Regions from separate parts of the Homo sapiens genome. Here region 2 is linked to region 1. The links are contacts of gene promoters, found by promoter capture Hi-C in human tissues and cell types (Jung and others, 2019). All regions are on one chromosome and are shown on one strand. The core of a region is centred on a gene start or on the middle of the fragment in contact, and the rest is flanking DNA. Distances in the headings are between cores, read along the strand shown.

The links. The method cuts DNA at HindIII sites, captures the fragments that hold promoters and counts their contacts. A contact is called where the count stands out against the background at its distance.
Region 2: a fragment that was not itself captured here is called in contact with the fragment with the promoter of EIF1AD in region 1 in 1 of the 25 tissues and cell types used here (lymphoblastoid cells).

The regions. Positions count from the first base shown.
Region 1 is chr11:66,000,853-66,008,580 of GRCh38, reverse strand. It overlaps EIF1AD (eukaryotic translation initiation factor 1A domain containing), which reads left to right and starts at 6,424. Exons shown (of 6, transcript NM_001242481.2): 1 at 6,424-6,671. It overlaps BANF1 (barrier to autointegration nuclear assembly factor 1), which reads right to left and starts at 6,078. Exons shown (of 3, transcript NM_003860.4): 1 at 6,011-6,078; 2 at 5,208-5,346; 3 at 4,432-4,955. The coding sequence starts at 5,330. The coding sequence ends at 4,809. RefSeq lists enhancers at 1-271, 4,543-5,349, 6,357-6,726 and silencers at 929-1,223, 5,717-6,056. The HindIII fragment of the contact is 11,764 bases long and covers 3,614-7,728 here.
Region 2 is chr11:66,278,068-66,285,795 of GRCh38, reverse strand. CNIH2 (cornichon family AMPA receptor auxiliary protein 2) reads right to left here and starts at 7,621. Exons shown (of 6, transcript NM_182553.3): 1 at 7,259-7,621; 2 at 3,469-3,537; 3 at 3,016-3,063; 4 at 2,649-2,761; 5 at 2,405-2,548; 6 at 1,590-2,226. The coding sequence starts at 7,339. The coding sequence ends at 2,199. It overlaps YIF1A (Yip1 interacting factor homolog A, membrane trafficking protein), which reads left to right. Exons shown (of 8, transcript NM_020470.3): 5 at 38-95; 6 at 260-415; 7 at 830-923; 8 at 1,013-1,216. The coding sequence ends at 1,159. LOC107984340 (a long non-coding RNA gene) reads left to right here and starts at 7,271. Exons shown (of 2, transcript XR_001748274.1): 1 at 7,271-7,301. RefSeq lists an enhancer at 2,847-3,350 and a silencer at 7,516-7,728. The HindIII fragment of the contact is 4,602 bases long and covers 1-3,551 here.

The sequences.
Region 1 (7,728 bases), core at 5,175-7,674:
GGATCGTGCCACAGGGGCGAGGTGGGAGAGGCAGCTCCCCTGGGCCTGCTGTGTCATCACTTGGAGCTTAGCCATGGCCACAGGTACCTCCAACAGCTCTCTCAAAAACTAGCCAAGGCCTGTCTGCCACTCACCAAGGGCACCCACTCCACCTGCCTCTGCTTTGTGCTGATGCAAAGGACTTTTTTTGCAGTACAACCTAGCAATTTCTGAGCACTTTTCACCCACTGATTCTCACAAGCACCCTGAGGGAGTACACATTATCCTCACTTTGCAGATGAAGAAGTTAATCAGAGAGGTCGGGACACTTGTCTAAGGTCACACAGCTAGAAGTGGTATCTTGGTAAGAAAAGGTGGGGAGGATTAACAATGGTAAGAACTCTTGCTGTGTGCCAGGCCTTGCGCCAGGGATTCAATATATGTTCTTTCATTCCCATAGCAGCTCTGCACAGACAATGACTATTATCTCTTCCTACAAGGAGGAAATGGGAGATCAAAGGGGAAAGGTTAGTGGTGGGTCCCGGTGCATGAGTCCTGGGCTGCTCCACAGGGGTTTGAGGTCTGCTGTGCATGGTGTAGGGGTTGTTTCTTGCAGATGGGGTGTCCCTGAGCAGACTTTCCCAGGGCCTGACTCCATCCCGTCTGGACCACTCTGGCTTCCAGGAGGTTTGCGCCAAGCGTGAGCTTGAGGTCGGTCAAATGTACTGGCCACAGGGCAGAGCCTCCAGTTTTGCAGTGGCCCAGACATCCCACCCCAGGTTGTCCACAGCACCCCTCTCTTGCCCCTGGCCTGATGGGTGGAGATGACCAGGGCAGGTTCTTGACATCTCCTTCCCTCTGGGATCAGGCTCTCCAAGGCTTCGATGCTTCCCCCAGAACCCTCTTCCTTGAACCTTCAGTTGGGCAGAGGATATTGCCCTCCCCCCAGGGCTCTGTAGCCCCATATCCTGGAAAGGAGATCTTTCAGCAAGGAAACCTGTAATCCAACAGGGATTAAAGCTCCCCTCTGGGGAGGAGCGCTCCTAAGCGCTGCTGATTCACTGGTTGAATCTTCACAACCCTGTTATCAGCTGGCAGAGGAGGCTGTAGCTCAGGGGAGTGAAGCAACTTGCTCCAGATCGCATGGGGAGCAAAGCCCCAGAATCGGGCCTGGCTGGCTCTTCAAGGCTGCCACCAGTCAAGGTTGGGAGTGACAGGAAAGAGCCCTGGTCCCCACAGGGAGGGGCCAGCCTGGAAAGGGATCAACAGTCACAAGCACCTGCTGGGAGCCTTCCATGCTCAGCAGGCTGCCGGGGGCAGGGCTTGTGGTGGTCCAGGTAGCCTCCCCCTACTTCCTTTCTGGGGGCAGCAGGAGCCCTTCAGCACCCCAGAGTGCATGGGCTGGGTTCACACGAAGTTCTAGGCTGGCTCTGAGCACTCATGACTAGACCAGCTGAGGGGGTCAAGCTCTGGCTGGGTGTGATGGGGGGATGGGGTCAGTATTTGCTGATTTCTGGGCCCACCTATGTCCCAGGCTAGTGGGTGGCCAGGCATGTCCTCTTGGACACCACGGGCTGACACTGAGACAACCTGACTCATACCCCTCACCAGCCAGGTCTGCTTTCTGCGCCAGCATTCCAAGCCGTGGTCCCTTTGTCCTGCTGGCTGAGTCGGGCTGGATCTGAGAGGCCACACTGTCACAAGGTACATTCTAGATGCCCTTTGTCTACTGCTGTCCCAGGACAGAGCCAAGAACTTGTGTGGGATGCAATATGGAGTCCTGATAAAGGGTTTGTGGCCTGCCACCTGGTATATGCACTGCCTGTGCCCCAAGGGAGAGGTGAGAAGGCAGGTTCCAGTCCCTTCTATGGCAAAGCCTGTGGGTGAGCCGGGAAAGGCAGACAACAAGGAAATAAAGCAGACAGCATGAGCCGCAGGCTTCCAGCAGGGTCCCAGTGCCACCAGGCGAGGCCAAACCAGGAGGCCAGCGTGGGCAGGAGCCCAGGGAAGGGCTTCATGGAGGAGGAGTCTCCATGACCTCACAGAGCACCAGCAACAAGCTGGCAGCATCAGGACTGAGGTGTGGTGAGGCCGGAGCCCTGCAAAGCCCCCACCTAAGCACACAAGGCCTGCGACAGCATCATAGCATGAGGGTCAAGGCTGAGGGGACTTAGCCGGGAAGACATCAGAAACAGTCTGAAACTCAAGAGAGAGCCCTCGTGACCACCTCAGCCGGGACTCAGACCAGCAGCCTCCCAGGAAGCGGCTTGAAGCACAAGCTGGGCCCTGCTGCAGTCACCTGGTGTCCCTTTCAAGCTGGGCCACTCGCACTTTCCAGTCCCAGCCTTGCACAGAACTCTCATCCCTACAAATAACAATTTAGTTTCTGACCTTTCACTCAATCGTTCCAGCCTCAGGTCTTTATTTTTGGTTTTCCTGTTATCTTTCTATTGTTGAGATGTAGCGAATACACTGAAAAGGGCGCAGAACATACACTTTTGGTCAATGCCTGTACCACCACCCCATAGGTCAGAAACACAGGTCAGGGTAGGCCAAGCCTACCCTTAAGCCCTTCCACACCCTCCCCCAAAGATAATCCCTGTAGACTTTTTCCTTTACTATTTACCATAATCATTTCCTTTGTTTTCCTTCTAGTTTTACCATCTATGTAGGAATTCCTAAGAATTTGTTTGTCTTCATTTGCTATTGAGATTCGTGTTGTACACAACTATCATTTGTTCATTTTTACCTCCGTCCAGTGTCCGGTGGCATGAGTGCCTATTTATCTACTCTAGTATTGACAGCCGCTAGCGTTGCTCCCAACAATGCAGCTGCAAACTCATCTAGGTCCTGCTGCAGGTGTTCGGGACTTTCTTCAAGGCACAGTCCTGAGAGTGGAACTGCTTGGTCACAGGGCGTGTCAGTTTTACTAAATAACACCCAACTGTCTTCCCAAATTGTTTAGACCAATTTATACTCCCACCAGCTAGGTATCAGTTCCTGTTGCTTCATTATCTCATCAATACTTGGTATTGTCCAACTTAAAAGTGTTTGCCAGTCAGGTGGGTGTTAATGGCATGTGATGTCTTATTACTAGCAATATGGAGCACCTTTCCTGTGCTTATTTACTGGGAGGGAACCCTCTTCTGTGGCCGTCTTAGATCTTTTACCCATTTTTCTGTTGTTTTTTTTTTTTTTTGAGACAAAGTTTCATTCTGGTCACCCTGGCTGGAGTGCAATGGCCGTGATCTCGGCTCACTGCAACCTCTGCCTCCCAAGTTCGATTCTCCTGCCTTAGTCTCCTGAGTAGCTGGGATTATAGGCGTGCACCACCACACCCGGCTAATTTTTGTATTTTTGGTAGAGATGGGGTCTCACCATGTTGGCCAGGCTGGTCTTGAACTCCTGACCTCAGGTGATCCACCCACCTCGGCCTCTGAAAGTGCTGGGATTACAAACGTGAGCCATTGCGCCCAGCCAGTCCGCTTTTTTCTTGATTGCAATTCTGTATGTGCTATGGAAATAGTCCTTTGTTGTTTATACTGCTGCAAATATCCTTTCCCTACAACCACCTCATTTTCCAAGTGGAGAAACTGAGGCTCAGAGAGGCTAAGCCACATGACCAAGGAACACATGGCCGGGTCCCTGGGTTTCCAAGCTAGTTTGAGTTCCAGTCTGGCTACTTCCCAGGAGCAAGTCCATGGGCAAATTAGCCTCTCTGAGCCTCAAATTTCCTCACCTGTAAAGGAGAAAATATTTATTACTGTGAAAGAAAAAAATGTTTGCAAAGATTTTAGCTTCAAGCCTGGTTCATACTAAGTGTTCAAGAAATAATAGGGCTGGCCGGGTATGGTGGCTCACACCTATAGTCACAGCGCTTTGGGAGGCTTAAGGATCGCTTAAGGCCAGCATGGGCAACAGAGCAGGGCCCTGTCCCTATTAAGTTAAAAAGTAAACAAAAAGAACAGGACTAAAATGTACTGAGGTGTACTCCCCTCACATCCTTCCAGCTGTGATGCCTGTGCTCCTTCTCCTCCCTAAGAGATCATGGAAGATGGCAAGCACCCTGCCCACCCTTACAGAGGCCGGGAGAGCAGATGATGACTGGCAGGTGAACTCTCACCCACATCCGGCCCACCCTGTCTGGTACCTCTGACTCCCACTGACTTTTCCACCAGGTGCTGCCTAGCCCAGCTGTTGACTTAACTGACATCTGGAGCACAGTCCATCTGGCTCCCAGGAAAAGATCCACCCACACCCTCTCCCACATCACTCGGGGATTGAGACAAAAGTCACCTGCCTGAGGCCTACATGGCTAGGGTGGCTGCCCTCTGGGAGTGGAAGGGAAGCTGCCAGTTTCGGTCTCTACTGATAAGGAGTGAGGGAAACATGGTCAGTCCCTGAAGGAGAGGCAACTCCCAGCCCACTTGCTTTTCAGTGCACAAAGCCCAGTCATGAAAGCCACTGACTTTATTGATCTAAAAAACTTTACAAGGACAGTGACTGTTCTGCCAAAAAAGGAGCCAAATGGTATCAAACGGATTGAAAGTGAGGGTGGGGGTGAGGGATGGGGCCGGGAATCCATTCAGGAAAGCTGGTAACTGTCACCAGGGAACTGGCAAGGGAAAAAGGACGGGGGAGGCATGCAAGAGCGAGAATCCAAAAAAAAGTTGAAATGGTTAGGGGAGAAAACTCCCAAAAGACCCCGGAGTACGTCGGAGGTGAGTACGACAATAGCAATCTTTTCCTTCGTAGAGGACAGGGGAGGAGTCCCTACTCGGCTGCAAACTCTGGATGAGGGCTGGGGATTGAGAGCTTCCCAGAGAGCATCACAAGAAGGCGTCGCACCACTCTCGAAGGCATCCGAAGCAGTCCCGGGACTGCTTGGCGTTGGCGCCACAAGTGTCTTTCAGCCATTCCCGGAAGAGGTCTTCATCTTTCTTTAGCACCAGAAACTGGCCAAGGACAACATAGGCCTGCAAAACAGGGAAAAGGAAGGAGCGTGCTGCTCAGTGCTCAGTGAGAGATAAGAGCAAGACAGCCATTCCTGTGCCATTCAGAGCACACAAGCCCAGGAAGCAGCGCGGGTTTTGCCCCCCTCTCCTCTCCACCAGGTGCCCAGGCTCTGGCAGCCTCTTCAGATTATACCTTACTGTCCATCCCCCAGCAGATGGAATCACTTCCCTTCCACCCCCCGCTTGCACTAGGTACACGCAGCCACCCCACACCTTGTCAAAACCCCTTTCCTCCAGCTTCTTGCCCAGGACTTCACCAATCCCAGCCAGGCTCCCCACTGGCTTCTCCCCCATGGGCTCTGCCACGAAGTCTCGGTGCTTTTGGGAGGTTGTCATCTTGATCAGGCTTAATCTAGGAATCCCAAAAAAAAGGCAGATTAGGGCTGAAGACCTGGAACTTCTAAGGGCCCACGAGCAATCTCATAGTAAGAGGAAGCCAAGCCAGGGGTTACAGTGGCTTGCTCGATCCCCCTCATCCTGAAAGGAGAAAACAGTTCCAGGGAGACTCTTCCCTACTATTTTTAAGAGGAGTTTCTTCCTGCAGGACCTGGATTTTGATCTTGCCCCAGAGGAAAAACGATCCTGCCTAACAGGTGGCGCAAGCGGGGCAGTGGAAAGATGCCCAGAGTCCGTAGCCAGGGCTGCGCGGAAGCTATCACTCCCTCTGTGACCTTGGCTGAACCAAGACGACACTGCCTGCCTGGAACGGCCACTTGGCGTGGAAAGCTAACCAAAGGGTCTCTCTACCTACAGGGCGAAGCGCACACCTAGCGCTGCGCACACCCGCTCCCCGCCCGCGGGGTTCACGCCGCGCCCCAGCTCCGCCCCCACCGCGCGCCGCTGCGGCCCGCCCCTTCCCGCGGCCCGGCTCCCACGCGCTGCACCCCGCCCCCTCCCCGCAGCGCGGCCAAGCTCTCCCCCAGGGCCCGCCACAGCGCCTGCGACCCCTCTCCTCCCCTTCTCCCCGCAACCCCTCTGGCCTCCAATCAGGGCCCTGCTCCGCGGCTGGCGCTCACCCGCAACTTCAGTTCCCGTAACGGTTCCTCCCGCCACCCGGCCGCTCCTGCGGATACCTCAAGCCACTAGAACTTTCTTCCACTTCCGCTTCCGGGTCGCTTCAAGAGCCGCCTTTAAAAAAGAAACATTCCACGTTGGGCACTTCTAGCCAGTTAGAGCTATAGAGTTGAGGCGCCCCGGACCTCGACGGCGTCCTTAGTAGGCGCTCCTTTCCGGTCCTTCGCGGGAAGCCCTGCCTTCTAAGGTCTCGCTTCTCGCGCAGTTCTGAGGGAGATAGGCCTCCAGGGAGAGGACTTCCTTTCTCTGCTGCCCGGACCCGGAACTCAAGGACTTAGGCTTGACGGACCTGGCGTGGGGAAGAGTTAGAAGACGGACAAGGGAGGGGACGGGAGGCCTCCGAGACAGCGCCGGAAGTACGGTTTTCGGAGGGATCAGACTCAGACTCACGTCGCACTCCTCGCAGTTGGACTGGTGGGAACTGGGAACACTGGAGACCTGATTTCTAACTGACGCTACCGTCGCGGCCGCCGGCAAGTTCCTTTACTGTGTTTTCTTGGTTCAGCCTTGAAGTGAGTCGTGGACGATCCTCTCTCAGCGTCCAGCCTAGACGGCGGTGTTGCTCCGGCAGCGTTCCTGGGAGCCGAGGGCCAGAGACTAAGTGTGGGTGTTTCTCTGAGGGTCTTTTCTCCGGGATAGACAGGGAGGAGGAAGGAGGACAGCAACTAGAGACGACAGTGTTTCTTTCGGAAACCATCAGTCTTAAGGGTACTGGCCTTCGTCTTCTAAGTACGCAAGTCAGAAATATGCAAATGTCGCAGACAAGCCTGCTCACCTCAACCTTTAATTAACTAGTTCCTGGCTTGAACCATCACGGTGGCCACCTAGTTTGTCTCCGGCTGTAGTGTGTTGCCAGACTGAACTTCTCTGTTGTGTGACTATGCTAGACTTGGGGTGTACAAGCGTGTTGAGAAAGATACGGTTTATTTCAAACTCCTTCCAGAGAGGTTGCCAGGATGACTTCTCTGGAGCATGCGTATAGTTTTATATTACACTAGTACTTAAGATTATAGGAGTTACTTTTTTTTTTTTTTTTTTTTTGAGACGGAGTCTTGCTCTGTCGCCCAGGCTGGAGTGCAGTGGCGCGATCTCGGCTCACTGCAAGCTCCGCCTCCCGGGTTCACGCCATTCTCCTGCCTCAGCCTCCCGGGTAGCTGGGACTACAGGCGCTCGTCATCACGCCCGGCTAATTTTTTGTATTTTTGTAGAGAGAGGGTTTCACCGTATTAGCCAGGATGGTCTCGATCTCCTGACATCGTGATCCGCCCACCTCGGCCTCCCAAAGTGCTGGGATTACAGGCGTGAGCCACCGCGCCCGGCCGGAGTTACTTTTACATGACATGCATTGTATTGTCCCATTCTGTTGTAGCAGGACGAGTCGCAGACAGAACTCCTCAGACACCAGATTAAAGAAGGAAGAGGTTTTTTTATTCGGCCGGGAGCGTCGGCAGACTCGTGTCTTAAGAGCCGAGCTCCCCGAAAAAGAAATTCCTAGCCCTTTTAAGGGCTTACAACTCTAAGGGGTCTACGTGAAAAAGTCATAATAGATCAAGTAAGCGTGAGAAACGTGACTGGGGGCTACATACATCAGCTAACAGAACAAAAAGTTTTACAGTGCTTTCTCATACAATGTCTAGAATTTACAGATAACACCAGTAGT
Region 2 (7,728 bases), core at 1-2,500, 280 kb before region 1:
GAAGCCAAGCTGATGGCATCTCTCTGGCACTTGGCAGCGATGGCCTTCATTACTTACGTGCTCCTGGCTGGGATGGCACTGGGCATTCAGAAAAGGTCAGTGCCAAGCCCCTCCCTTACCCTCCCCTCCCTGTGAGCTCTTCTCCCAACCTCCCTAGGGCATATGTGGTGGTCCCCAGCTCACCCTCTGTTGCCCCAGTCTCTCTTCCTCACCCCTGCCTCAGGATGCCTGGCTCTGAGCCACCCCTGCTTTGGCGCAGGTTCTCCCCGGAGGTGCTGGGCCTGTGTGCAAGCACAGCGCTGGTGTGGGTGGTGATGGAGGTGCTGGCCCTGCTCCTGGGCCTCTACCTGGCCACCGTGCGCAGTGACCTGAGCACCTTTCACCTGCTGGCCTACAGTGGCTACAAATACGTGGGGTGAGCACTTGTGGGCCAGGGGGAGGTGGCCTTGGATCTGGGCCTGCATAGCTGTAGCCTCGAACTGTGACCCTGGACATGTCTCGGCCCCTAGTGACCTCTAGCACTGCTCTGTTAAGAGGGAGCAGCTGTCTCCAGCAGTCTCCTGAGGATCTGCGTGCCATGCAGAGGTTGGGGAGGTGTTGAGAGTCACTCTGCGAGTCTTGGGGAGAGAAGGGGGTCTCAGATCCAGGTCCTGGGGCTGAGTCCTGGGCCTTCCATATCCCTTTGGGGTCTGGGTCCCTGTGGGGACAGATTGAGAGTAAAAGGTGCTGTGGGAGGTGGGGTCTAGCTGGGCTCTGGGCGTTGGGGGTAGGGCCAATCTCAGGCCTAGACCCCTGGGGGTCACCAACCCTTTCCTCCTCCCACCCCCAGAATGATCCTCAGTGTGCTCACGGGGCTGCTGTTCGGCAGCGATGGCTACTACGTGGCGCTGGCCTGGACCTCATCGGCGCTCATGTACTTCATTGTGAGTCTGGTGCACCCCCCCATTCCCCTGCCTTCACTTGAGGGCAAACCTCCCCCTCCTGGCCAGGCTTCAGTTCTCCTTTCTTCCAGGTGCGCTCTTTGCGGACAGCAGCCCTGGGCCCCGACAGCATGGGGGGCCCCGTCCCCCGGCAGCGTCTCCAGCTCTACCTGACTCTGGGAGCTGCAGCCTTCCAGCCCCTCATCATATACTGGCTGACTTTCCACCTGGTCCGGTGACCCCCTGGCCCCAGATGGCACTGAGTTTTTCATTCATTGAAGATTTGATTTCCTTGACTTTGTCTGACCCTTGTTCCTGGGGCCTGATGGGGAGCTACAGATACCTCTGCGCCTCTGCATTGCCCAGGGGATCGGGCTTGGGGCCGTCTAGGAAGAAGGTGGACCCAGGGAGGGCTTCATGACTTTGGTGACCTTGATACTGCCTTGTAAGGGTTTCAGCAGCCTCAGCTGGGAAAGAGAAGATGGAAGGAGGCTGCTGAGGGGACCTGGAAGGCGTCTGATCCCTCTGGGGGGCTCCAGCAGGGTCTGTGGGCTAGTGGGGTGAGACAAGCCAGGCTGGGGATTCAGCTTAGGGCTGCCCCCTATACAGTCCCTGTAATCGGCCCCCATCTCCTCTTCAAGCTTTCCAGGAGCAGAACCGGGGCCCACATATTTGCAGTAGTTTATTCATATTTTGTCACAAATGGCCGGGGAGGGGGTGCCGGACTCCTCCAGGCGACATAGAAAATAGGTCCAAGAGACAAGGTGGGCTGAGGTTGGGGCAGATGGAGACAGGGCTGGAGAAAGAGCCTGGGGGAGAGGGGAGGGCAGACTAGGGGTGGGGCTGCCCCCCTGCTGAGCCTGCTCATTCCCGGTGCGGGTACCCCCCCACCTGCAGGGGGAGCCTCAGGGTGGGGGTGGAGGGGGATGGCCCAGAATTTCCAGGGTCAAGCTCTGCCCCTTGGCAGGGCCCAAGTTTCCCCCGAAATGGACAAGGCCGGAGGTCCTGCCCCTTCCAGGAATGACTGCCATGCCCACAGGCTGGCAGAGGAGCCCCTGCCCCTGTTTAGAGCTCTGCCCAGCCGCTCTAGTCCAAGGGGGAGGGCTCTGAAGGCGGGGTGGGGGGGGTTCCCCGCAGCAGCAGTTTGGGGGTTGGAGAGGCTGGGGGCACCAGTGCCCCCTCCCTCCCCAGGGCTGAGGCCTCTGCGGCCAAGGGGCAGGGCTGGGGGTGCACAGGCGTCCGGTCCGTTCTGGGCTCGCTCCCTGGCCGGCTTCCCCCTTAGAAACTCACCAACGTATAAACCATACTGTAGGAAGATGAGCCAGTGAGCCTAGCCCTGCACACACACAGCCACCCAGATGCCCACCTGGTCACACCCTGGGCTGCCCTCAGTCCTCAGGGGCAAAAGGCAGGAACTTGGGATTGGAAGCGTGATGCTGGGACATCCCTTCCCTGAGTTCTGACTGCTGTGGGCAAGGCCTCACCTGTACAGGTAATAGAAGAAGGAGAGCAGGTAGAAGGCAAGTTTGCACCAGGACTCCTTCTGGCAGTAGTTGAGAATGTCAGCATTCATGATGGAGACCGCATCATACATGACCTCAGAGCCATCTGCAGGACGGTGGAAGTACCTGGGGCAGACAGGGGCCTGAGTGTCTGCCATCAGGACTCCCACCCCCATCCTGCCCCTGTTCCCCATCTCAGCCTCCCCAAGGCAGCTGCTACCCTCACCTCCAGAGGTGGTAGAAGAGGAGGGGGATGTTGAGGCCCAGGGTCACCCACTCTGCTGCACACAGAAACATCAGACAGAAGAGGCCGTGGATGGAGTATTCTGGGACCACCAGCTGGGGGAGTGAGGGTGAGAGGTCAGCGGCCTGGTGCTATGACAGACCAGCCTTCAAGGGGACAGAGAGGAGCTGGGGTTTGGGAGGTGCCCACCCACCGTGACCTCTGGGGATTAAAAGGCCTCTGGCTTCCCACTCCCTCCCAAGTAGAGTGGATCAAACAGGCCCAAAGCAGGGGAAGGCCTGGTTCTGGGCCACAGACAGTGGGGGCAGCGCTGGGCTAGGAGCCTCCTGCCCCCAGCCCTGACACTGACCTTCCTCAGGAGGCAGCAGATGCGTTCGATGTTTTTTAAACGCTCGCGCTGTTGGGGGAAGGAAAAGGCCGCGATGGGGTGGCGGAGAAGCAGGTACTGGAGCAGCTCCCACCGCTCCACATGTGGCCGCCAGGGGGCGCCAGAGCGATCTCTGCGGCACTGTCGGCACGGCCGGGAAGCAGCCGCGCCGTCCCCATGGCGACCGTCACCATGGAAGGGCCTTCACCCGCGTCTCCATGGCAACGGCCCAGAGCCTGGCAACCACCGCCCCGCCAAGAGGAACTCAGCCCTGAGCCCGCGCCAGGTGTTTGCTGGGGGCGGAGACAGAGAGGAAGGGGGCATGGCCGTAGGCCCCCCACCCCACCCCCGTCTTCCCGTCTCCCACCCCCAGCCCACGACAGATGGAAAGACAGACGGACGGACACACCTCGGCACAGCACATGTATCACTTACTGCCCGCGCAGGGTTCCCCTGGTCGATGGGGTTCTTGAAGTCGGTCCGCAGCTCATCAAAGGCTATGATCTGGGGGAGGGGCGTGTGCCCGTCAGGGTTGGGGCAGCAGCTTATGGCCTTCCCCCAAGTCCTTCTGTGGGATAGTTTACTGAAGAGGACCAGCCAGGTGGAGCTTGTTGCAAAGGTGGAGAAACCGAGGTCCAGGGAGGAGCAGGGCCTGGTCCAAGGTCATTACAACAGTCCAGAAGGGAACCCTAGCGTCTGGATGCCCAGTTCAGGCCCATGTCCACTACACCCCCTTCCAAAACATCCCAAGACATGGCTTCGTGTCTGCCCTGCCAAGTCTCAGGCCCTGTGCTGAGCACTGGGGCTCCAGAGGCCTGGGATGCAGCCCCTGCCCAGGAGGAACCCAGGCCCAGAGGGATGATCACTCTGCCTTCCAGGTGATCAGGGTTTGGGGTACAGGGAGGACCTGGAGTGGGCGCTTAACCCTGTGTGGGGGGTGAGGGAGTTCAGGCTGGACTCGGAGTAGGTGTTGGTGAGCAAATGGGGGAAATGCAGTCCAAGCAGTAGAAGGTGCAATGGCAGAGGGGTGAAAGGTCAGGAGACATTCAGGAGGCTGCGGGTTTCATGGGGCTGGCGTGACAGCGCAGCGAGCAGGAAGAAAAGAGAGAGTGGTGGAAGAGGAGCTGGAGAATTCAGCAGAGCCAGACATGGGCGCCCTGTGAGGCCAGAGCAGGAGTTTGGACTTACTTTAACACAAAAATTTTGGGGGGAGGCATTGAAGAGTACACAGCAGCAGAGTGGGGTGGTCAGGTCCATGTCTTAGGATTGGTCCATGTCTCAGGATTGGTGGGGCAGGAAATCCGAGCTCACTGACAGTCACAGCTGAGATCTAAGTGGTGCTTCTCCTGGCCGGTATGTGGATTCACTCATTTAATTCTTAACAACCTTATGACTTAGGTACTAGTTTTATTTTCATGTCTGTTTTGCAGATGAGGAAGCTGAGGCAGGTTAAGTGACTTGTCCAGGGCCACACGGCTGGTTAGTGGATTCTAACCCAGTGTGACTCCAGAGTTAAAATTCCTAACCACTGTGTCATACTCAGGCCAGACCAGCAAGGGGACGGTTTGGAGGGTTAGGGGCAGGGCTGATGGTGGTCTGAGTGAGGAGAGTTGTAGTGGAGACGGAAGGCGTGCATGGGATTCTACAGCTCTTTAGGAGCCAGACTCCAGAGGGTTCAAATGGCTGAGAAGTGAAGGCAGAAATCTAAGGTGGCTTCAGGTGTTGGGGTGTCTGGCAGACGGCAGTGTCCTCACGGGTGGAAACTCTCCAGGGGAGCAAGTGTTTGAGGGGATGATGGGATGGGAAGGAGCTGACAGGTGACTTGGGGGAAATGGGCTGGCAGAGGAGCCTGCTGGGGTCCCCTCCTGTCGGCTCCAGCCCTAGGATGAGGCAGCAGGCCCACCACCCCCAGGCATCCCAGGCCCCAGACGGCTCAGAGAGAAAGAACATGGGCTTCCTGGAGGGAGCTGAGGCCATCTGGATCATCCCCCCTCCCCGCCCAGCTCCCCATTGACTCTGGGCAGCGCCACTTGGCACGCACAGCAACAGGGTCCACAGGGAGCAGAAGGGTGCCGTCTGTACCCCAGAGCTGGCACCACCAGCAGGCGGCGGGCGTCACCCCTCCCACCCCCCAGGCTGCCTGGCGCTGACTCAGCCCCCCGGAACAAACAATCCCCCATGGTGACAGCTGACACGCGTCACTCACCGCCAGGGTTGCCTAGGAACCACTGGGGCCTGGGCTGAGGGTCTGGAGTGGGATCTGGGGTCCCGCCCTGTTAAGAGTCTAGTTCTTAGCAGCTGTGGACTGAGGACCACGCCTCCTATCCCCTACCACCCAGCAGGCCGCACTAGGCACTCTGATGTGCACAGGTCCACTTTGCCGGCGAGGAACCAGACTTGGGACAAATGACTTGCTAAGATTGTCCAGCTAAATGGCTGAGTGGACAGAGTACCTCACACAGGTGCTCAATCAATATCTGTTGAATGAACAAAGACATTTCTTCAAAGCTTGGGCCTTTCCTCCCAGCCTGGGCACTCCACAAGGGCAAAGTCTGGGTTTTATTCATCCTTGACCCCCTCAAAGCCACCCAGAGCCTGATCTTTGGGAAGCATCAATGCAGGCGTGGTGGATAAACTGCTGAGGATCCCCTGAGGACAGGGACCCCACAGGGGCTGTGGGAAGGCCCTGGGTGGGGAAGGCCCCAAAAAGAGGCTTCTTGAATTCCAGGAGCCCTTCTCCCAGGAGCTGGTCAGCTCTGCATTCCCTAGCCTGTGGCCCCCAGCTCCCTCCAGTCCTTAGAACCCTAGCCCTCCTGCCCCTACCCCACAGAAAGAAAAATAGAGTAACTCGGGGTGCGGGGGAGAGGGGGAAAGACAAAGCAACCAAGACCCAGAGAGAGAGCAGAGCCAGGCCAAGGAGTGACAGGGCTGGAGCTGGGGTGTGTGCTGAGGTGCCTTTGGGGGCTCACTCTTCACACAGTAGGGGTTCAGTCTATGGATTCCCGATGTCAAAGAGCAAGGTGGCAGGGGATGGCAAAGGGAGCGCAGGGGGAACCATGGAGCAGGCGGCAGGTCCCAGGAAGAGAAAGGAGAGAGGAAGTGGAGAGCCCGGGAAAGAAGCAGGTGAGGCACCGGGAGGAAGGAGGGAAGGGCTATGGGAAATGGGATTGAGGGAGGGATAAGAGGACCCCTGAAAGGGAATGACAATCAGGGAGGTGTGCGCGGGAGGTGTGAGCAGAGGATGCTGAGCTGAGCCAGCCAGGGCCGAGCTGGGCAGGCTGTTACAGAAACAGGCACGGGGTTTGGGTGGGGGTGGGGACGGAGGGCAGTAAAGTGGGGCCAGGGGCCCCCAACAACCAGCTGGAGGCTGATTGATAGTTCTGTAGTGAGGGGACGGGAGCCAGGCAGAGGAGGCCCTGGAGGAGAGGAGCGGGAGGGGAGGAGGAGGGAGCCTGGGGGAAGCGATGGGTCGGATGCAGGATGAGGAATGGACATTTTGAAGAACCAGGTGTGAGGCTAGGCCAGGGCGAGGGACAGACCAAGGGGTATGTGAGAGACAAAGGGGAAGGGGGACAGGAAGAGGAGGGAAGCTGGAAAATGGAGAGGAAACCTGGGGGGCTGGGAAGCCCCCAACAGGAGGGGTAGGGAAACCCAAGGTGAGCCGGTGGTGGGGGCTAGGTCTCTGGGGGCTGATGAGAGCCAACTGCTGCTTGGTCAGGGAGGGGGCTGGGAAGGCAAAGGGTTAATGGACTCTGAGATCTGTGGGTCCTGTAAACAGATGCAGTTGCCATAGCAACCAGCTCCATCACTCTGGCTGGAAAAACCCACAAAGGCGGGGGGGGGGGGGCAGCAGACAGACAAACTGCCCGACGGACTAATGGAGGCGGCTGGATGGTGGTGGGGGGGGACATAGAAGATAAAGCAACAAAAATGCCAGAATTCCACCCCCCACCTCACGGGCTGCATGGGAGCAGAGGACGAGGGCAGAGGAGGGGGTCAGAGACCGACTGACATACACACAGACAGGCGGGGGCGGCGGAGGAAGGGGGGCCCCGGGAAGAAAGCCGACCACGGGGGGTGTTAATGGGGGCGAAGCCGACAAGCCGACGGCTGGGGGATAGCAAGTTTCCCCTGGGCTCTGAGACCACCCGCCCTGGGTCCCTCCAGCTCCGCGTGGCCCCTGCCCCCCACCCCGCCCCCAGCCCCAGCCCCAGCCCGGCCTTACGTGCCAGATGACAAAGAAGATGAGGGAGGCGCACAGCACCAGGGTGAGCATGTAGCAGAACGCGGCGAAGGTGAACGCCATGGCCCCCGCGCCGGGCGGCGGCCCGGGGGGCGCCAGCGCGGGGCCCGGGCGCAAGGGGACGCCCCCCGGCCCGCGCTTAGGGCCGGCCGGGCATGGCCCGTGGGGCTCGGGGGACGTGGGTGATGCGGCCGGGACCGGGACCGCGGGGCCGTGGGGGGCGCGGGGCGCGGGCCGGTGGGCTCGGGGGGCGCGTCCGCTGCCGGCTGCCCGGGCCCCGATCGCTCATCCTGCGATCCCTCGCCCGCGGCTCCCTCGCTCTCCAGCCCGCGAAGCCGGCGGGGCGGAGCCGGGGGCGGGGCCGCCGCGCGAGCGGCCTCGGGCGGGGCTGGGTCTCCGCGGGCCCCTCGTCTGCCCGCCCGGCTCGGGCGCCACCCCCAGCCCCGACAAGC